Regions from separate parts of the Homo sapiens genome. Here region 2 is linked to region 1. Evidence: promoter capture Hi-C in 16 types of primary human blood cells and fetal thymus (Javierre and others, 2016). All regions are on one chromosome and are shown on one strand. The core of a region is centred on a gene start or on the middle of the fragment in contact, and the rest is flanking DNA. Distances in the headings are between cores, read along the strand shown.

Region 1 (4,265 bases), core at 1,034-3,533:
GTGCCTGCAATCTCAGGTACCTGGGAGGCTGAGGCAGGAGTCTTGCTTGAACTGGGGAGGCCGGAGGTTGCAGTGAGCTGAGATTGCACCATTGCACTCCAGCCTGGGCAACAAGAGCAAAACTCCGTCTCAAAAAAAAAAAAAAAAAAAAAAAAAAAAAAAAAAAAAAAGATGTGTTTTTAGGACATATGCTCAGTTAACTAGGCCAGTCACAAAAAGACAAATACTGCATGATTCCACTTATATGAGGTATCTAAAGTAATCAAACTCAGGAACATAAAGAAGAATAGTGATTGTCAGGGACTAGGGGGAGGGGGAAATGGAAGGTGTTAAACAACAGATGTAGTTTCAGTTTTGCAAGATGAAAAAGTTCTAGAGATCTGTTGTACAACAATATGCATATAGTTAACACTACTGTATTCTACACTTAAAAATGATTAAGATGGTAAATTTCATGTGTTTCTTACCATAATTTTTTTTAAGTATTTTTTTGGGCACGAGAGGTAATATGAGAGAGATGGCCAGAAGACCACCTACTGAGCCTAGTCTGAGGACAGGGGTGAGCACAGGGATAGGTTTGAATTTCTTTTTCTTTTCTTTTTTTTTTTTGGAGACGGAGTCTCGCTCAGTCGCCCAGGCTGGAGTCAAGCGGCGCGATCTCGGCTCACTGCGACCTCTGCCTCCCGGGTTCACGCCATTCTCCTGCCTCAGCCTCCCGAGTAGCTGGGACTACAGGCGCCCGCCACTACGCCCGGTTAATTTTTCTGTATTTTTAGTAGAGACGGGGTTTCACCGTGTTAGCCGGAATGGTCTCCATCTCCTGACCTCGTGATCCGCCCGCCTCGGCCTCCCAAAGTGCTGGGATTGCAGGCGTGATCCGCAGCGCCCTGCCTTTTTTTTTTTTTTTTTTTTTTTGAGACAGAGTTTTGCTCTGTCGCTCAGGCTGGAGTGCAGTGGCGCGATCTCTGCTCACTGCAACCCACGCCTCCCGGGTTCAAGCGATTCTCCTGCCTCAGCCTCCTAAGTAGCTGGGATTACAGGTGTGCGCCACCACGCCCGGCTAATTTTTTGTATCTTAGTAGAGATGGGGTTTCACCGTGTTAGCCAGGATGGTCTCGATCACCTGACGTCGTGATCCACCCGCCTCAGCCTCCCAAAGAGCTGGTATTACAAGCGTGAGCCACCGCGCCCGGCCTTAATTTCAAAAGGTAATAGAGCTAACCAGTCAACACTTCCTTCCCAATCCTTTCTCTTTTGGGTACAGGTGAGTATAAAATCTTACCAACTATCATAGTTAACAAACAAACCATAGCAAAATATGTTTCTATGCTTTTTCTCTTGAGAGCAAAGGACATGGGTATCCTTTCTTAGACGGCTTCTAGGACTTAAGCCAGGAAGAGAACTTGCGTCTCCTACGTCTCTGGAAGGCGTCTCTGGAAGGTGTCCCTTCTTCAATAGACAGAACTAAAACAGAAAGTTCCCTTGACCAAAGCGAAGCAAGCGAGGACAAGGTGGCCACCTGGGTGACTACAACCCCCAGCATGCACTGCTCCTTCTAGGGCGCAGCGACGAACGAAGACGCATTACTTCTGCGATGGGAACGGGGTAGAGGAGCGCGACTACACATCCCAGGATGCAAAGCGCCCCAACTCTAGTCACAACCTGGCTTGCTTTCTGGCTGGCGTTCCCCGCCAAAGGGACACTAGGGGAGGGGATTGTTTCGGTTGGGAATCCCCGAAGTCTACTGGACCGTGACATTTCGAAAGAGGAAGGAAAGTGGAGGAAAGCTGTTTCACTGTAATTCAAAGTAGTTCCCGCGCAGGGTGGCGAGGAGTTATGGGCCCCTTCCATAATTTATTGTTCCTCAAAGGCAATGCCAAGCCCCACTGGTCGCAGCCCTCCAGGGCAGGTGGGAAGTACGTGAAGCCCCAAATCGAAGTTATCAGCCTCTCCCTATTGGCCCTCGCCTCGAGCGCAGGCGCGAGGGCTCTGACTCCGGTCCCCTGGGCCTGGTGAGCGGCAATTGGCCAAAGTCCGCGAAGTAGGAGGCCGGATTGGTAGTTGCTAGCAGGAGCCTGATTTCTTCCTCGACTTCTGCAAGTGATAGAGTGTGATTGGTTTAAATCCGCGGGCACCTGTCGGTGATTGGGTAGAAGCCACAGGCGGGGCGCGGCCATTGGCTGGCTCTGGGGCCATCCCTCCTCGGGCGGGCAGCGAATGATGAAATGGGAACGGGGAGGGGAAAGGCCGCGACGTGAGCGCGCGACCTCCGGCGCCATTTTGTAGAGAAACAAGCGGAGTTAACCGAAGAGGGGGTCGAGGAGAGCCGGAGTCGGGGACCCAGGAGTTTCCTGTGTCCAGCGCTGCCGGAGCCGCCTGAGGTGAGGCGGGTTGGCGTCAGGGGCTAGGGTAGGGTGGCGGTGTCAGCTTGGGAACGCGAGAGCCGGTGGGAGGAGGAACAGGGGTGGACCTGGGGCCACTGGAAGCGTTTCCCGGAGCTCTAGGGAGTGAGAGGCAGCCGGGACGGGGAAGTGGGACGAGGCGGGAGAGGGCGGACTCTTCTCCACACGGCTCTCGGAGGCTTCGCGCTCTGAAGATGAGAGGCCAGCGAGAAGGCTCCAGGAAGCGGAGGGTAGAGCGCGGGGTGAGACCCATGGTGGTCTCTGTCCCGGGCCTGGAGGCTCAGGGGGCGGCAGCGGCGGCAGTTCGTGTCGCTGGGCCTGGCTTCGCGCGGGTTGCACCCCTCTGAGACCTCCACGACCTCCTTAACTACTGTTTCTGTCTCTGCTCCCTGATGGTTGCAGTGGGCATCGGCTTCCGAGGCCTAGGGCTTCTGGCGGGGGGGACCGTGTTTGGAGTTTTTGCATGTTTCCAGTTCTTCTCCGTGTACTCGGAGCTGCCACTCTCCCCGTCTTACGCCCCCAGCACGTTGTCAAAGCCCCCCAGGTTTCGGGTGTCCCCGGATGGGAAGGGCGGGCGGGAGCAAGCACTTCCTTATTACTTGCTACAGGTTTTGTTCCACTCGCGCGCCTGGGCGCTCACACTTTCTTTGAAGTTGGCCCCCACCTACTCGGTCCGGTGTCTGCAGTAGTGGCGGTCCTGCTCACCCAGGACAAGTGTCCCGCTAGTGAGCTGAGCACTTGTAGGCCTCAAGGCTGATAAGATCCACGGCAGGTCTTGTAGAGGTACTTAAGGCCAAACACAAATAATACTTTTTCAGTACCACCTCCTTTGCAGAATTCACCCAAGAGGGCTCACAGATACTAACTCCCCGAGGAGTAAGCTTTGTAGATTAAAAAAGAATGCTTGACATCTGTGCGTTTGAAAATGTTGTATTTAAAATAAACTTTATGACAAACTTTTCCCATGAAGTTAATCAAATGTCACATTTCTTAGGACTCTAATAAAGTCTGTTTTCTTCCTGAAAACTGAGTAACAATGCTTAACCTACCCTGCCGATTTCTCTACAATTCGATAGCCTGTGACTACTTGGGTTTTTTTTTTTTTTTAAGTCAGTGATTGAGTGAATATAATTATACTGTTTGAAACAATGCCGAACGTTTTCCTTATGACAGCCCCTTTGATAGGAATAGGGAATACATGGATTAAAAAAATGAGGGAAGGCAAGTAAAATATTAGGAGGAAGGTCAAACAGATTAAGAACAATTTTTTTCTATAGGTACTTGGGTTTAATACTTAAGTGATCTGTGGTCCCGGTTGGTATTCCTACCCTTTTAAAGATTGGCAGCAGAGTATTTTAGCTATTAAGAAGACATGTGGTAACAGTTTAAATAATTATGTTTTAGGATACTGCAAATTGTTACCTTGTCTAAGGAGAATATGCATTGATGATACATGGTTTTAGGTGGCTAGCTGTGCTTTGACTGAAATGATAGCATGTTGATAAAACTAGTTTGGAGAGTTAGTTCCTTTTCAACAAGTGTGGGTTCCCCAAGTCTTAGTGGAAACAAGTCTAGAATCGACTGGGCGCGGTGGCTCACGCCTGTAATCCCAGCACTTAGGGAGGCCAAGGTAGGTGAATCACCAGAGGTCAGGAGTTCGAGACCAGCCTGGCCAACATGTCACAACCGCGTCTCTACTAAAAATACAAAAATTAGCCGGGCGTGGTGGCAGGTGCCTGTAATCCCAGCTACTTGGGAGGCTGAGGCAGGAGAATTGCTTGAACCCGGGAGGCGGAGGTTGCAGTGAGCCGAGATAGAGCTACTGCACTCCAGCCTGGGGGACGGGGAGACTCCGTCTCAAAA
Region 2 (4,265 bases), core at 1,011-3,510, 5.2 Mb after region 1:
TTTCTTGGCTGAGGACTGTGAGAATGAGTTACAGGTTAAAAATGCACAGAAAATACAAGAAATCAAGTTAAAATTCCATAACCAGTATTCTGTATTAAACATCATAAGAGCTTTATTTTCCCTTGCACTCCCATGAGAATGACATCCCATATTGTCACAGCGTACCTCACTGTAAGCCCCACAAGAGCAGGTTTGCTGCTCTATATCCAGCACCTAGAACAATGTGTAGCAAGTAATAGGTGCTCAAGAAATATTTGATGAATATTTTACTGAGTAAATCATTTACTGAATAAACTGGGCTAAGAAGCTGAAACTAAAGTCTCAGTAATCAAAAGAATTGAGTAATCAAACATGTTTTCAAAAATAATTTACTAACCAGCTATTACGTGATACTTGCTCATGTATCACTAGACTTCATACAACTTAACTGCTATGAGTTGAAATACCTCAAATAAATGGCGATAATGCTTGTTCTATCTGATTTACAGGATTATCTTGAGGGTAAAATAAGAGCTTGTTTGGAAGCCTTTAAGGCCATTTACCAAAAAAAAACCCAAAAAACAAAAAACAACATAAAAAGCCAACCAGTCCTTCTCTTTGCCAGACTACAGAAAGGCACTGAGAGATGAATAGGAACATAGCTTACTCAGCCAGATCATGTAAATATACAAAGAGCTTAGTAAACTTGAAAACACTGTCCATATGGGTGCTTTATGTGCCAGAAACTACATTATTGCCTTATTTAATCTTCAGAACAGCTCTGTGAGGTAAACACAAATATCTCCAGTTTAGAGATCACCATACTGAACTTTTCCAGCGGTTTCAGGTCTGTCGGGTTCTAAAGCCACCATACACTATCTTCTGCAGACCTAACAATTCAAAGAGGGAACTAGTAATTGAATTAAAATTCTATTAATGCAAATACAAATTAAAAATAACCTCACTCATCAGTACACATAGCCAAAAACATCATATTTAAATAATACCTTGGTTAGGCTTTGCATCCTGGACCTATTTGCCCGACTCTTTCTACAAATTAATTATAAAACGACTTGAGAAATCAAATGGCCTCAGGTTTAAATGCCACACACACAGTCAAACAGCTGATAAACAATCCGTACTTCCGTGTCACTTCCCATTGGCCCATGAAGGGGAGGTGCATACAAAGCTGACACTCACTGGCTAGAATGGCCATTTTTCTCATCTGCAAGCCCTGTCCGAAGGCTGCGACCTAACACACCCGGATCGCAACAACAACAGGAGTCCTGTGCAATGCCCGGGGTGACCAAAAAGCCCTCGAGGTAGCCACAGTCCTGATCCTAGTGACAAATGGGGGCATGTGTCTACATCCGGGTCGGCGGAGGGCTCATTTCATCTGGCCTGGGGGGAAATGAGTATTAATTTGTTTACACAGACGTAAACACAGCCCAAAACGCATCAGCACGTTGACTCAAACGCCCGCAACGCCAGGGCAAAGGCAATTTGGTTAACAGGGGGAAGCGAACAGACGGAGACGCCTGGAGACCCAGGTGCCACAACCCGGTTAATCGCGGTGCAAATAAGGGCAAGTCCCCTCCCCTTGTCCGTGTGGTCTTGACAACGACACTAGTTCATTCTACTAACAAGGCGGGCGGGGGGTCAGATGGGCCACACACACCCATTTTCCTCAACGGGACCCCAGCGCGATCTCAGCCTTGCTGTGCTACTTTAGGGCAAGACGCGTTCCCCATTCGGAAGCCGCAGGAAAGCGCGGCGAGAGCGGGTTAGCCCTCGGAGCGGCTAAGAGCCTCGGAATAGCGCAGAGGAAGTCCCCACCCCTCTCGGGGCTGGGAGCCCGCAACCCGCCCGAGAGTCTCTCGAGGCGCGCGACGCGGCTCGGAAGGCACCGGTTCACGCCAACTAGGCCGGAAGCGCCCCTCCGCCCGCGAGCGCACCTCCAGCGTGTAGCTTTCGCTCATGCTGCGGTAGCTGTCCCAGGCCTCGGCCCGCGCCGCCTCGTCCATGTTGAGGCGGCTGCACAGCTCGTCGAACCGCTGCTGGATCTGAGGGGTGGGCGACTCGGCAGGCGGCGCGGCGTCTTCCGCCTCGCCGTCGTCCTCCTCCTCCTCATCCGAGGCTGCCGCCGCCGGAGGGGGAGGCGGGGGCGGTGGCGACTGGTCACCTCCCGACGGCATAGCGCACCCCTGGGCGGCCGGACCTCAGGTGAGGTGAGGGCCCGGGCCCGCAGCCATTCAAACGGCGAAGCGCCCGCCCGTCCGCCGCCCGCACCGCGCCTGCGCCGCCGCAAACGACGCTGACCGCCTGCAGGCACCCGTAGTCTTGAGCACGGGCTGCTGGGAAACGTAGTCCAGGCCGGCGGTTCAAGGGGGCCAAAAATCATGTTTAAAAAAATTAGCTCCCCTAGTTTCACCAGGGGTGAAATAAAAGCACCTTCCCCGCATTTTAAACACGTACCTCCCCACCGTGAGAACATTCAACAGGGCTGTACTGACGAGAAAATGTCCAAAAGACACTGACGTGTGAAGGTTTCGTATCCAGGCTGTTCCCAGAAGTAAAACTTCCTCATCGCCTGGATATCCTTATCTAAAAAATAGGGATAATAGCAAGGGCCTGTCTCTGTACGTTCACGAAACTGCCTTTGCAAAAATCCTAACAGTGAGAAAGTTATGACAGTGCAAGGGATCTGACCTAAATGACTCCACGCTTCTCACTTCCGAGCTGCCCTTGTTCATTCCTGGGCGAAGACCTAACTAACTACAGGAGGAATTTAATTTCTAATTTCACTTTGAAACAAAGATTGTAACAGTCCTTTCCAAAAACAAACCCCATTCTTGCCTGGGGATCAGTCTGCCTTTGTAGAACTAACAAATTAGCCACAAGATTAGAAATTATGATTTAGGAGGCTTGCAGCCAGAGGCTATAAGATTCCTGACCTCCCCAATTGCTCTCAGGGATAACATCACTATTGTAAAACCTAAGATTGGTGCTGGAGATACTTTTCAGACCGCGCATTCCGATGCACTAGCTGGCGCCACTCAGACCATAATCTGGCTCAACAAGTTCTGCAATTCCACTCAGTAACAGAAGACAGCAAGAGCCCACTTCAACCCCCTGTGATTTCACCTCCCACCTGACAAATTAGCATTCGCCAATCCCTGGCCCCCTACCCGCCAAGTCATTCTTTAAAAACCCCAGTCTCCGAATTTTCTGGTAGGCTGATTTGAATAACCAAACTCCTGTCTGCCGTTCAGCTGGCTCTGCGTGAATTAAACTTTTTTTTTTTTTTTGAGACAGAGTCTGGCTCTGTTGCCCAGGCTGGAGTGTAGTGGCACGATCTCGGCTCACTGCAACCTCCGCCTCCTGGGTTCAAGCGATTCTCCTGCCTCAGCCTCCTGAGTATCTGGGATTACAGGTGTGCGCCACCGCACCCAGCTAATTTTTGTATTTTCAGTACAGGCAGGGTTTCACCATGTTGGCCAGGCTGGTCTCGAACTCCTGACCTCAAGTGATCCACCCACCTCGGCCTCCCAAAGTTCTGGGATTACAGGCGTGAGCCACCGTGCCCAGCCAATTCATTTTATTTCCAATTCTCCTTTCTTTATTTTAATTTTTTAAATTGCCAATCCTTGATTTATAAATGGGCTTGATATAAAACATTTTCCAGATTGAGGAGCAATCTGAGGATTGAGCAATTTGAGGATTCAGAAGGCATTACTGTTTTGCTATTTTTGTTTTGCTTGGTGGGATATGTAAACTGACAGAGGGAAAAGTGCTGGGACAAAAGTAGGGGCTTATGGAAGGTATAATGACAGGCGGGAGGACAGGAAATGGAACTCTGAAGATAGGAGAAAATCAGGTAGACAGGTAACAGGATATTTCAGGAACAATTTTGAGACAATGGAACCCTCTTAAGAAAACCTTAGTAAAATTCACAGTAATCAGCAATGCTTTTGGAGTTGGCTAAGTGATGAGTCTCAAGGTGACTATGGGGCAAGAACAGAAGTTGAACACAAATGGTTTAGAAGTATCTTAAGTATATAGGCTGGACGTTGTGGATCACACCTGTAAATCCAGCACTTTGGGAGGTCAAGGTGGGAGGACTGCTTGAGTACAGGAGTTCGAGACCAGCCTGGGCGACATAGTGAAACCCTGTCTCTACAAAAAATAGAAAAATTAACCCAGAGTGGTGGTACACGCCTGTAATCCTAGCTACTTGGGAGACTGAGGTGGGAGGAACGCCTAAGCCTGGGGAGTCTGCAGTGAAC

Evidence for each region. Contacts are between HindIII fragments. The CHiCAGO score rates a contact against its expected background, and 5 or more counts as called.
Region 2: a contact is called between the fragment with the promoter of RBL2 here and the fragment with the promoter of CNOT1 in region 1, in 3 of 17 cell types (M2 macrophages, monocytes and fetal thymus). The highest score is 6.6, in M2 macrophages.

What each region holds. Positions count from the first base shown.
Region 1 is chr16:58,627,844-58,632,108 of GRCh38, reverse strand. CNOT1 (CCR4-NOT transcription complex subunit 1) reads left to right here and starts at 2,283. Exons shown (of 49, transcript NM_016284.5): 1 at 2,283-2,381. RefSeq lists enhancers at 1,416-1,905, 2,196-2,405, 1,854-2,529, 2,530-3,206. The HindIII fragment of the contact is 12,291 bases long and covers 1-3,285 here.
Region 2 is chr16:53,432,466-53,436,730 of GRCh38, reverse strand. RBL2 (RB transcriptional corepressor like 2) reads right to left here and starts at 2,260. Exons shown (of 22, transcript NM_005611.4): 1 at 1,935-2,260. The coding sequence starts at 2,174. RefSeq lists an enhancer at 1,266-1,375 and a silencer at 1,986-2,205. The HindIII fragment of the contact is 5,814 bases long and covers 1-4,265 here.